Linked DNA regions of Homo sapiens: region 2 is linked to region 1. Evidence: promoter capture Hi-C in 16 types of primary human blood cells and fetal thymus (Javierre and others, 2016). All regions are on one chromosome and are shown on one strand. The core of a region is centred on a gene start or on the middle of the fragment in contact, and the rest is flanking DNA. Distances in the headings are between cores, read along the strand shown.

Region 1 (6,861 bases), core at 1,304-3,803:
CAGTTCTTGTGGCTTTGGCCACTCTAAGGCATGGGTAACCATCAAAGGCTGGCCCTTACTCTCCAGATAGGAAGCCCATCCCTGGCCCCCTCTCTAAAGTGAGCATAGTTGAAAGCATTAAGATCTTTCACCTTTTGGCCATTGGGCATAGAGTCAGATGATCAGCAGTAGAGTTTGGTGCCTCCATTAATGACTCTGCTCTGACACCTGCTCTCTATCTGATGTCTTGGGCAAGTAATTTGCCCTTCTAAGCCCCATTTTGGTCATCTAGAAAATGAGGCTAATAATAGAAATAATAGCTCTTACTTCCTAGGGCTGTTGGAAGGGTGATATGAGGTCATGCGTAAAACGTGTTTAACACAGTGCCCACTTGTCAGGCCTCTGAGCCCAAGCTAAGCCATCATATCCTGTGACCTGCATGTACACATCCAGATGGCCAGTTCCTGCCTTAACTGATGACATTCCACCACAAAAGAAGTGAAAATGGCCTGTTCCTGCCTTAACCGATGACATTATCTTGTGAAATTCCTTCTCCTGGCTCATCCTGGCTCAAAAGCTCCCCTACTGAGCACCTTGTGACCCCCACACCTGCCCACCAGAGAACAACCCCCCTTTGACAGTAATTTTCCTTTACCTACCCAAATCTTATAAAATGGCCCCACCCCTATCTCCCTTCCCTGACTTTCTTTTCGGACTCAGCCCACCTGCACCCAGGTGAAATAAACAGCCTTGTTGCTCACACAAAGCCTGTTTGGTGGTCTCTTCACACGGACTTGCATGAAACCACTAACTACAGATCACAAAGAAATGTTACCACCATGATTGCTGGTACTAATATATTTGTGTTATAATTTTAAGTGAATTTGTGAGTGTGTAAAGGGAGCAACAGAGTTCCTCAGTGGATGGGGCAGAGGAGGATGCCCATCAGCTGGCACGTGCCAGTGAGTTCTCCAGGTGATTTTCCCATTTGGAAATTTTTAGCACAACTGGGGAGGAGCAGCCCAATCTCTTCCTGTTCCTATAGCCTCTGGAAATAGGAGCACCTTGATGTGAACCTGAGTCCAGCATAGTTCAGAGAGCCCCCCTCAGACCTCCTCAGGTCAGTGGCTATAGACACACCTAAAGACAGGACCCTGTAAAACCTTTCCTGCAAGCTGGCTACTAAGACGCCTTGCTCTCTGGTCAATCCCACTCACACAGACACAATTAACATCACTCTTGACCAGGAACTTATTCTATATAAAAGGGTATTCTATATACTGAGGTATTTGGCAGTGAATTCCTCTTACCCATCTCATCCCCAAACATGACATTGCAGAGCATCTTCAAGTCCTTGGGGCAGAGTAAGGTAGGGAATCCAGTTTTCCTTTTCTGCCCCCCTGAATGGTCGATGGGGTCTTCCCTCCCTGGCAATCACCTCCTCACTCCTTTCCTAGAGATGCTTGGTGGGAAAGGCATCCTTTTCTCTTAGTTCTCCCTAACATGCTATCCCCTGAAGAACTCCAGGAGGTCAATATATAAATTTAAAAATCAAGTTTACTGAGATTATGCTTTATATACAATAAGATGCACCCATTTTCAGTGTATAGTCTGATGAGTTTTGGTAAATGTTTATGCATATGTAGCCACCATCACTACCTCCCTATAGACTATTCCTATGATTCTAAAAAGATTCTTTTGGGAGCCTTCCTACTCAATCCCCACCATCTCCAGGCAACCACTGATCTGCTTCCCACCATTAGAGATTAGACTAGTTTTAGATAATAGATTAGGTCATTACACTTTTGAGGAGAAATTCTTTTTTTGCTGCTGACCAGCATTCACTACATCAATAAAAATAAATGCTAAGCTTTGGGTTTGTTTTTATATAAGAAATGACAAAAATGCCCATTTGTAAGAATTGTTTCTTCCACTTCCCACCTTAAAGTAATGCAACGTTTCAGGGCAAAATTGCCTTCTTCATGAGTGGGTTTGCAGTACTGATTGTATCTTTCACAATATCTGTTGAAAATAAATTCCTCCTTTTAAAATTACAAGAAAAAAAGCCTGTGACTTAATCTTTTCAAACAAAATGACAATAACAGAAAAACCCAAAAGAGTAATTCCCTTAGGTCTACCCTTGAATCAGCCAAGTTTGTGGCTGAGTGAAATACACCGCTCCTGCCAAGCCTTCCTCTCATTGCAGGAAATAGCTGCACACAGGGAGGAAACATGAGCTGATGCATTCCCCACCCTGCCTCCCCCCATGTAGTTCCGTAGGGAACCATTCCAGAAACTTAAGAAGCCTGTGTGTACACCAAAAAAAGCCACAGGGAAAAACCCCTCAAACATCTTACAAATGCTCAGACTGATAAAGACATATTGAATCTATAAACATCAGGACAATTCAGGAATGTGCCTGCACAGTAAGAAACTCAACTTACAATTTGCACTCAAAAACAAGCATGATTATGCATTCTTATTTCACTGACCTCATGACTGCCCTCTGTGTCTCTGCTGTTCCGAAAAGCTGGTGACCAGGCTGATTTGTTCTTCAGAAGTCTTCCTGTCTGCCTCAAGTAAATACTGAAGGAACTATATAAAGGGGTGGGAGAGTAGGGCACGCATCAGCTGATGTTTTCTCCGTTTTTGAGTAATTGCTTTTAGGGGAAGGAAGAGGAAACTGGAAAGTGAAACTAATTTAAAATCGTTGGGAGGAGGAAAATGAAACCTAACGGCTTGAGACCTGCAATGGCTGAGCCAGAGTACGTTATTCAAAACTGTGACTAAAATTTGTTTGAGAGAATGTGGAAGCATTCCTAATGTAAACCAAAAAATTAAATTCTAAGGCCATACTCACCAACCATGTGACTGGACCCCTGCTTTTGGCCAAGGGCATTCCAAAGTTAACCTGAAAACTGATGTGAAGGGGAAGCTGGATATGCCTCATTACATCCTTTTTCCTTTTGGAATTACTAATAGAACACACTCTTTTTTTGTTTTTGTTTTTGTTTTTTTTTGAGACAGAGTCTTACTCTGTTGCCCAGGCTGGAATGCAGTGGCATGATTGCGTCTCACTGCAACCTCTGCCTCCTGGGTTCAAGTGATTCTCTTGCCTCAGCCTCCCGAGTAGCTGGGATTACAGGCACCCACCACCATGCCCGGCTAATATTTGTATTTTTAGTAGAGACGAGGTTTCGCCATGTTGGTCAGGCTGGTCTTGAACTCCTGATAGCAGGTGATCCAACCACCTTGGCCTCCCAAAGTGCTGGGATTACAGGCATGAGCCACTGCACCCAGCCAGAACATGCTCTTTTTAAGTGTATTAAGAAACATTTACAACCTATTCTCTCTGAAGCCTGCTACTTGGAGGCTTCATCTGCATAATAAAACCTTGGTCTCCACGACCCAGACATTCCTTTCTAATGATTGTCTATTGAATTTCTATTGGATGTCTCCAAACATTCCTTTCTATTGATAATAACTCTTTCAACAAATTGTCAATCAGAAAATCTTTGAATCTGCCTATGACTTGGAAGCTGCCCCGCTTCCCTGTTTCCAATTGTCCCACCTTTCTGGACCTAGCCAATGTACACCTTACATGTATTGATTGATGCCTTATGTCTCCCTAAAATGTATAAAACCAAGTTGTGGCCTGGCACATGTTCTCAGGATCTCCTGAGGGCTGTGTCACAGGCCATAGGTCATTCATATTTGGCTTAGAATAAATCTCTTCAAATGTTTTACAGAGTTTGACTTTTTTTGTCAACATTAGGTATCTGACCATCAGTCTAGGGTGGGGCCCAGGAAACAGCATTTTTTAAGCCAATTCTTATTATTTTTAAAAATTTTTTGTGGACACATAGTAGATATATATATTTATGGGGTACATGAGATATTTGATGCGAGCATACAATGAGTAATAATCACATCAGGGTAAATGACTTCAAGCATTTATTCTTTGTATTACAAACAATCCAATTATACTCTTTTAGTTATTTTGAAATGTGCAATAAACTATTGTTGACTATAGTCATCCTCTTGTTCTAACAAACACTAGATCTTATTAATTCTATCTAAGTATATTTTTGTACCCATTAACCATCCCCACTTCCCCCGCTACTACTCTTCCCAGCCTCTAGTAATCATCATTCTAATCTCTATCTCCATAAGTTCAATTGTCTTAATATTTTTAGCTTCCACAAACAAGTGAGAATATGTAAAATTTGTCTTTCTGTGCCTGGCTTAATTCACTTATAATGACCTCCACTTCTATCCATGTTGTTGCAAATGACAGGATCTCATTCTTTTTATGGCTAAAGAGCACTCCGTTGTGTAAATGTACCACATTTTCTGTATCCATTCTTCTGCTGATGGACACTTAGGTTGCTTCCAAATCTTGGCTATTGTGAATAGTGCTGCAATAAACATGGGAGTGCAGATATCTCTTTGATGTACTGATTTCCTTTCTTTTTGATGTATTCCTGGCAGTGGGATTACTGGATCATATGGTAGTTCTATTTTTAGTCTTTTGAGGAACCTCCGAACTGTTATCCATAGTAGTTATAATAGTTTACATTCCCACCAACAGTGTACAAGAGTTTCCTTTTTTCCACATCCTTGCCAGCATTTGTTATTGCCTGTCTTTTGGATAAAAGCAATTTTAACCAGGGTAAGATCATATCTCATTGTAGGTTTTTTTTTAACTTATATTTTATGTGCAGGTATACACGTACAGGTTTGTTATTTAGGTAAATTGCATGTCATGAGGCTTTAGTGTACAGATTATTTAGTCACCCCACTCATAAGCATAGTACATGATAGGTAGTTTTTCAGTCCTCTCTCTTCACCCATTCTTTACCCTCAAGTAGGCCCCAGTGTCTGTTGTTCCCCTCTTTGTGTCCATAATGTTCAGTTCCCACTTATAAGTGAGAACATGCAGTATTTGGTTTTCTCTTCCTGCATTAGTTTACTTAGGATAATGGCCTCCAGTTCCATTCACATTACTGCAAAGGACATGATATTCTTTTTTTTGTGGCTGCATAGTAGTCCATGGTGTATATGTACCACATTTCCCTTATCCTGTCTTCTGTTGATGGGCATTTAGGTTGAGTCCATGTCTTTGCTATTGTGAATAGTGCTATGATGAACATACTTGAACATGTGTCTTTATGGCAGAATGATTTATATTCCTTTGGGTATGTACCCAATAATAGGATTGCTGGGTTGAATGGTACTTCTATTTTAAGTTCTTTGAGAAATTACCACATTGCTTTCCATAGTGACTGAACTAATTTACATTCTCACCAGCAGTTTGTAAGTGTTCCCTTTTCTCTGTAACCTCACCAGCATCTGTTATTTTTGTTGACTTTTTAATAATAGTCATTCTGACTGGTATGACATGATATCTCATTGTGGTTTTGATTTGCATTTTTCTAATGATTAATGATATTGAGTATTTTTTCATATTCTTTTTTTTAGGGTATCTGAAGGAAGAAATTTATTTTCTTTTTTTATTATTATACTTTAATTTCTTGGGTACATGTGCACAATGTGCAGGTTTGTTACATAGGTATACATGTGCCATGTTGGTTCATATGTTTATTGCGGCACTATTTGCAATAGCAAAGACTTGGAACCAACCCAATAGACTGGGTAAAGAAAATGTGGCACATATGCACCATGGAATACAATGCATCCATAAAAAAGGATGAGTTGTGTCCTTTGCAGGGACATGGATGAAGCTGGAAACCATCATTTTCAGCAAAATATCACAAAGGACAGAAAACCAAACACCACATATTTTTTCATATTCTTATTGGCCGCATGCATGTCTTCTTTTAAAAAGTGTCTGTTCATGTCCTTTGCCCACTTTTTAATGGAGCTGTTTGCTTTTTTGCTTGTTAATTTGCTTAAGTTTCTTATAGATTCTCAATATTAGACCTTTGGTTATGCATAGTTTGCAGATATTTTCTCCCATCTGTCAGTTGCTTGTTTACTCTGTTGATAGTTTCTTTTGCTATCAGAAGCTCTTTAGTTTAATTAGGTCCCGTTTGTCAATTTTTGGTTTTGTCGTAGTTGCTTTTGGTGTCTTCATCATGAAATCTTTGCTGGTTTCTATGTTGAGAATCGTATTTCCTAGGTTATCTTCCAGGGTTTTAATATTTTTAGGTTTTACATTTCATCCATCTTGAGTTGATTTCCATATATGATGTAAGGAAGGGGTCCAATTTCAGTCTTCTATATATGGCTAGCCAGTTATCCCAGCACCCTTTATTGAACAGGGAATCATTTCCCCATTGCTTGTTCTTGTCAGCTTTGTTGAAGATCAGATGGCTGTAGGTGTGTGCCCTTAAGTTTGGGCTCTCTATTCTGTTCCATTGGTCTATGTGTCTGTTTTTGTACCAGTACCATGCATTTTGGTTACTATAGCCTTGTAGTATAGTTCAAAGTCAGGTAACATGGGCTCTCTATTCTGTTCTATTGGTCTATGTGTCTGTTTTTGTACCAGTACCATGCTATTTTGGTTACTGTAGCCTTATAGTATAGTTCAAAGTCAGGTAACATGATGCCTCCAGCTTTGTTCTTTTTGCTTAGGATTGCTTTGGGTATTTGAGCACTTTTTGTTCTATAGGAATTTTAAAATAGGTTTTTCTAATTCTATGAAGACTGTCATTGGTAGCTTGTTAGGAATAGCATTGAATTTGTAAATTGCTTTGGGTAGTATGGCCATTTTAGCAATATCGATTCTTCCTATCCATGAGCATTTCCATTTGTTTGTGTCATCTCTGATTTCTTTGAACAATGTTTTGTAATTCTCATTGTAGAGATCTTTCACCTCCTGCGTTAGCTGTATTTCTAGGTATTTTATTCTTTTTGTGG
Region 2 (7,067 bases), core at 4,428-6,927, 240 kb before region 1:
AAAAAAAAGAAAAAGAAATGAGAAATTAACACTTTAAAAAAGGTATATAGTGTTAGGATTTGAAGTTTTAAAATAAAACACCATGGCATGCATAGTTTTTGGAAGCCAAACAAATTCTAAATACACTGGTATTCAAACTTTTAAGATGTAGAGATTTAGTAATTCATTAGTATTAATTATTGAATAATTGCTACTTATGTTTTAGTGTCAGTTTTTATTCATTGATCCAGTCCTGCAGAAGAGACTTTGGAAGCATTAACTGCATCTTGCATTTCAACTCAGGAGAAGTTCATTTTAATTACTAAGGAGTAGTTGCAAAATAGGTTCAAGGCCACTCCCAAAATAAACCTACCAAGTTTGAGAAGTGAAAATTACACTTTTTGCTATTATTCTAATTTTTAAACTTCTAAATAAATGTTGAACAACTATTTGGAGAATATCAGTAAAAAAGGTGCCAAATTATTAACCTGCATTGAACTTTCACAAGTTCTGACCTGGCACTGGATGGAGAGGTAGAGCTTGGACCAGAAGTGACCTTTAATATCCTTCCCAACCCAGAGCTTCTGTGAGTGTGAGAACTGGGCCTTGACCCTGCCCTTTACAAAGCTACCATATGGGGTCCCGGCGCAGTGACTCACGCCTGTAATCCCAGCACTTTGGGAGGCTGAGGTGGGCGGATCACGAGGTCAGGAGATTCAGACCAGGCTGGCTAACACGGTGAAACCCCGTCTCTACTGAAAACACAAAAAAATTAGCCAGGCGTGGTGGCAGGTGCCTATAGTCCCAGCTCCTTGCAAGGCTGAGGCAGGAGAATGGCGTGAGGCCAGGAGGCAGAGCTTGCAGTGAGCCAAGATTGTGCCACTGCACTCCAGCCTGGGCGACAGAGCGAGACTCTGTCTCAAAAACAAACAAGCAAACAAACAAAAACAAAACAAAACAGAACAAAAAAAAAGCTACCATGTGGGAATAAAAGATGTTTCCAGGAAAGAGAGTCCACAACAATAATGACAGCTCTGATGGATTAAGCCTTTCATATGCTTGGCACTCCCTGTACCTAATCTCCATTAATCCACTCAGATGATGAATAACGTGGGGATTCTTATCTTCATTTTACTGGAGAAAAGACTGAAGCTTGAAGAGGCAAAGGAACATGCCAAGAGCATGCCATGAACAAATCGTCAAGAATCCTGAAGTGGCTTTCTGGGAAAAATCAAGGCTTTTTTGGGACTAAATGATCCAGAGATTTGCTTCCATTTTCTAAAAGGGATTGTGTATAGAGGCAATGTCTGAATGTGTATCTATCACCTTTATCAGTCATATTATTGAAATTTCTGCATACTCAGGCTTAAAATTGCACATTGGCTGGTCTGAAGTTCTAGCTCAAGTGCCTTCCTCCTACTGCTATTCAGTTAGTTAATATTCTTTGGCCAGGTGTGGTGGCTCACGCCTATATTCCCAGCACTTTGGGAGGCCGATACGGGTGGATCACCTGAGGTCAAGAGTTCAAGACCAGCCTGGCCAATATGGGTGAAACCTCGTCTTTACTAGAAATACAAACATTTAGCCAGGTGTGGTGGCTCACACCTGTAATCCCAGCTACTCAGGAGGCTGAGGCAGGAGAATCACTTGAACCTGGAAGGCAGAGGTTGCAGTGAGCCGAGATTGTGGCACTGCACTCCAGCCTGGATGACAGCATAAGACTCCACCTCAAAAAAACAAAACAAAATAAAAGAAAATTCTTCCACTTGCCCATTTCTTTTTTTTTTCTTCATCATACTTCCACTACACTTTACCTCTATGCAAACATTGATGCTAGACTTGTACATATGGGAGTACTTATACAACAAACAAAACCTTATTGCTAAACTTCTGTGTGGATAAAATGATATATATTCTATCTTGTCTAGGAAGAAGCACTTGAGTCTATTATGAAGACTCATGCCAAAATTATTATTGTTATTGTTTTTAGAGATGGGCTGGAGTGTAGAGGTACAATCATAGCTCACTGCAGCCTAGAATGCCTGGGCTCAAGTGATCCTCCCACTTCAGCCTCCTGGGTAGCTGGGCCTACAGGTGCATACCACCATGCCTGGCTAATTGTTTTTATTTTTTTAGAGACAGGGACTCATTATATTGCCCAGGCTGGTCTTAGGGGATCCTGTTGTCTCAGCCTCCAAAATTATCTTTGAAAAATAGAATTATTATTGATTTCTATATAAATGTTCTCTATTATAATTTGAAATAAATATTTTCTGTTTTATTTAATAACTTGAATTTCTTAGCTCTAATTATACTTTTGAATATTAGTATCTCTCATTAAACCAGTTCATTTCGGTGTGACTTTTTTCTTATTTTTCAATTATTACATGTTAAGAGAAGGATATATAGAAATTATGGTATTTGGCTTTTAGTAAGTATTTCTTGTCAGAATAAAAATTTTTAAGGGTAGGCCAAGCACAGTGGCTCAGGCCTGTAATCCCACCAGTTTGGGAGGCTGAGGTGGGCAGATCACCTGAGGTCAGGAGTGGCCAACAGGGTGAAACCCCATCTCTACTAAAAATACAAAAGTTAGCCGGGTGTGGTGGTGTGCATCTGTAATCCCAGCGCTCGGGAGGCTGAGGCAGGAGAATCACCTGAACCCGGGAGGTGGAGGTTGAAGTGAGCCAAGATTGTGCCATGGCACAATGCACACTGCACACTCCAGCCTGGGTGACAGAGTGAGACTCCATCTAAAAAAATAAAAAAATGTAAGGGTAATACAATTTTTGGTTTCAGAACGTAAACCTGCTTTCAAGAACTAATTAATATTTTAAATAACCTATCAATTTGGCCTCATTATAACTTATATTATGAGAAACTTGTCTCCTAAATTCATTGCCATCCTTAAAGGTTGTTTTAAGAAAAGTTGGGTTGTTTTTATTCCTGCTCAATTTTTTTAATCCCTGGAAATGGTGTAAGTAAAGATAGCTTTCCTTTTTAAATAGAATCCTATGTTCTTAATAATTTAGCCCAACATGATTGCTTAACCCTAGCGTCTCAGATTCAAGTGGCGTTTATTCAGGGAGATGCTTCTAATACAGAATGTCTTAAAGTGTAGCTTAGGCCCACCTGCCTTAGAATAACCTGGAGAGTTTGTTTAAAATGCCTCTTTGGGAGCATTTCCCCTGACTCACTGAATCCATCTCTTATAGTGGGGCCCCAAAAGCATTTTTAAATAAACCTCCCTACATAATCCTTAAACAGTTACAATTTGTCTAGGTAGAAATACTTGAGTCTATTGTGAAGACCCATGCCTATCTTAAAGGATATATCACTACCAGCGTTAAAAAGTATATACACACTTAAAATAACCCCTCCTGATTCTTTGGCAGGCCATGCCCAATTGGCAGAAACCAGCACTATGCGCTGATCAACTACTGACTAAACCACTCCAACTGCTGTCTCTAGGTTCAAAATGATTGCACCTCATAGGTGTCATTCAACTATGTGTGCAGCATGATAACTAAAGCCCCTTAAGACAATAGAGGCAAATGTGTCCCTCACATTATGTTGAAACTGATTTTGCCAGCACGCTTTTGTAGTCTAGTTTTCAGTTTCTGTTCTACTCCCACATTTTTCTAATATTCTGTACTTTCTTTGGCATGAGGAAGGCAATATGCTGAGTTTAGTTTGCAGGAGAGAAAGAATCTCGTAACGGGGCAGTTTCTCTGAGATTGTCTGGAGTTCATTTCAGGTGAGCCACTTTTCTCCTTCCAAGTATAGAAGTGACACAGGACATCTTCATAACATCAGCCTAAATTTACTGCTGCTATTATCTCCGGTTGCTGAAATAAACATTTTGCATTAAATTTTTTTTCTAGAGATAAGATCTTGCTATGTTGCCCAGACTGGCTTTGAACTCCTGGGGCTCAAGCAATCCTCCTACTTCAGCCTCCCAAGTAGCTGGGACTACAAGCACACACTACGGGCTGAATTTTTGAAGTGCCCAGCAACGACAGTAGACTTTTTTTTTTAAGAGATAAATCTCACCCTGTTGCCCAGGCTAGATGGAGTCCAGTAGTGTAATCACATCTTACTGCAGCCTCAAACTCCTGGGCTCAAGCAATCCTCCTGCTTCAGCCTCCTAAGTCGCAGGGACTCAGACACACACCATCATACCTGGCTGAATTTTTTATTTTTATTTTTCATAGAGGTGAGGATATCACTATATTGCCCAGTCTCCAACTCCTGGCCTCAAGGAATCCTTCTGGCCTGGCCTCCCAAAATGATGGGATTACAGGCATGAGCCACTGCACCTGACCCACAGTGGAAATTTTAAGGACAATTTGAAAAGAAAATGTTACCATTTCTTCCAAATAGACGATTATATTGAATGCTGAATGGCAGAGGCACTGTTGTATAATTATTTTGGGCTATGAGAAACAAGCAGTTGTTATCTTGCAATCATGTAACTCTTTTTCATCTAGGAATCTCCAAATTATCTCCAACAAGAACAGCAACAAAAATCTATGACCAAAAAACACAGTTTCAAAGTGTTCCCCAACCTTTTTGGCACCAGGGACCAGTTTCGTGGAAGACAATTATTCCATGGATGGGGTGGATGGTGGGGGAAGATTGCTTCAGGATGAAACTGTTCCACCTCAGTTCATCATGCATTAGAGAGTCTCCATAAGGAGCGTGCAACCTAGATCCCTCATATGTGCAGTTCACAGTAGGGTTTGTGCTCCTATAAGAATGTAATGCCACTGCTGATCTGACAGGAGGCAGAGCTCAGGTGGTAATACCCACTTGCCTGCTGCTCACCTTCTGCTGTGGGGCCCAGTTCCTAACAGGCCACAGACTGTTACTGGTCCACAGCCCAGGGGTTGGGGACCTCTGTTCTAATAGGTAGAAAACATGTTTATAAAGGACTCCATGACAGAAATTAAGCTGAACCCTTGTTTGTTAATCTCCATCCAATGAAAGGCCTACTAAATTCAACAGGTACGTATTCAACAGCTCTCATGAGCCTAGCTTTGTGTTGATTCCCCAGATCTATCTCTGCGTTGGGAGAATCCAAGTCCCTCTCATTATCTTAAGAAATATTTTTACATTTCTCCAAAATTTCAAAATAAAAGTAATAGAAAAATCATTATTTCTTTTTTAAAATTAGTAGTGCTCGCCATGAATTGAATTGAAAATAGGAGAGGGGTTATTTTAAATTCTTCAGGTTCTGAAATGTCGAAATTCCCAGATGACTAAAAAATCACTTATTCATCTAGATATTTAGGCTTCTTTATAAAGCTCTATAAATGCGCAAATATCTAGATGAATATCAGGATATATCTATATCCTGAAACCATATTACTTTGGAGGACCTGTACCATATTATATGAAAGATTATTAAATATATCTTCTTCCACTTATACCATGTAATTGCTAAAATTTTTCTCCCTATGGTCATTTTATTTATCCAGAACTAGAGACGTGTTTTTTCCCTACTAAATGAGGTGATAATGAAGTGGAAATGTAAATTTTTTAAGTCCACTTTTTGGTTTTGCTCTGTATACACTATATTCTGAAAGTATAAGGTTTTGAAAACTTAAGCTTTATAAATCATTTCACCAGAAAGATACATACATATGTCTATGTCTACATCGCTGTTTTGTGGACTCAGCTGCAACGTGTGTTCATAGGTTGCTATTTCTACCATATCCATCCAAATAATATGTGGATATCCACATAATAGCCACATATTATAATTAGAACTCTATTGAAAGTAAGCTTTTATTAATTATAGTATTTCCTGCAATTATGACCTCTTAACACTTCTTTGTTATACTTAAATAAAGAGTCAACATGGGGCACCCAAAAATCCTTCAATGATTTTGACATTTGAGCCAATCACATCACTTGAGCCAGGATTCAGTTCTTTTAAGTCACAGCTGGCTCTTCTAATGGCTAGTTACTCATATGATCCACAGAATGAGGTATTTGTTAAGAATTTGGGGTGCATATTCTGCTTTCAGAAAGTCAACACTGTTTGGTGATTATTTATCTTTTTTTTGTTTCCTCCATGCCCCATTACTTTATTTTCAATAACTGTTGCTTTCCTGAAGATAATGATACGGGATAGGGTAGAAGACGAGATTTTTTCTCTCAAAAGTGGAAGTTGATATTTTAATTAACAAAAGGGTGGGATTACAAACAACATTCTAATCATATGACCACACCACATTTTTCTGTTTAAATCAAGTCAAGGTTATGATCGTGATTCATAACACACATTGACTAAAAAAAGTCAATTGGCATAATTAAGAAGGGGAAAGTTTTCTGTTTTTAGTAAAGAAACAAAACAGTCCTATAACTGACCTTTACATTTCATTCTACTTTAAAAAGGCTTTCTAGCCTTTTGGAAAATCTTCATACTTCTGTTACATATTGAATTTAAAACTATATGCATTAAAAAATGTGCTATTAATAAAACCTCATCTTGGCAGCTGGTTCAAATATTTTTTTAAGAATATGTAGCCATTGTAGCACTTGTAATTTAAAATAGATGGCAGGAGCACACGGTCACTGTATATTAATGAAAAAAGTAGTCTATTTGAATTTTCTTAAAATGTTGCTGATTTGAAGTTTGAGGGGACTTAAATATAATTTATCCTCTTTTGCCTGGTCCTTAGTGAAGCACACAGAAAGCTTGGAATGCTAATTCAGAATTAATGCTCCAAAGACATGTACAGCTCTTTAGGAGAGGGAGCGTAAGCTGCCAAATATCTAACCCCAGGCTGGAGGTCAGATGTTAGGATTCTGCTTCGTGACATTCTCTTCCAGCTTCCCACCCTCTTTCAGCTATTCTATCCTCTCATTGGGATGTTTATGTTATTTTCTCACTCTTTAGAGACAGTATTGGCGCATATTCCCATACTAAGACAATTCATTTTCCTCATAAAAAAAGATTAGAAGAATAGGGAAATGTTTACAGGCAATATGCATGTTGCCAGTATTTCTCTCCTCAATTTCAGCTACTAAAAACCAAAAAATGTGTGTCTTAGTGGAAACTCAATGACTCTAGGATTTAGTAC

Evidence for each region. Contacts are between HindIII fragments. The CHiCAGO score rates a contact against its expected background, and 5 or more counts as called.
Region 2: a fragment that was not itself captured here is called in contact with the fragment with the promoter of IFIT3 in region 1 in 5 of 17 cell types (total CD8 T cells, non-activated CD4 T cells, total CD4 T cells and 2 more); the score reaches 7.8 in total CD8 T cells.

What each region holds. Positions count from the first base shown.
Region 1 is chr10:89,323,689-89,330,549 of GRCh38, reverse strand. It overlaps IFIT3 (interferon induced protein with tetratricopeptide repeats 3), which reads right to left and starts at 2,553. Exons shown (of 2, transcript NM_001549.6): 1 at 2,472-2,553. The coding sequence starts at 2,476. It also overlaps a transcript of LIPA not described here. RefSeq lists enhancers at 265-324, 2,546-2,785 and a silencer at 2,176-2,225. The HindIII fragment of the contact is 8,842 bases long and covers 1,852-6,861 here.
Region 2 is chr10:89,566,917-89,573,983 of GRCh38, reverse strand. No RefSeq gene overlaps it. Among named protein-coding and RNA genes, the nearest start is that of MIR107, 22 kb to the left of the region's middle. The HindIII fragment of the contact is 177 bases long and covers 5,589-5,765 here.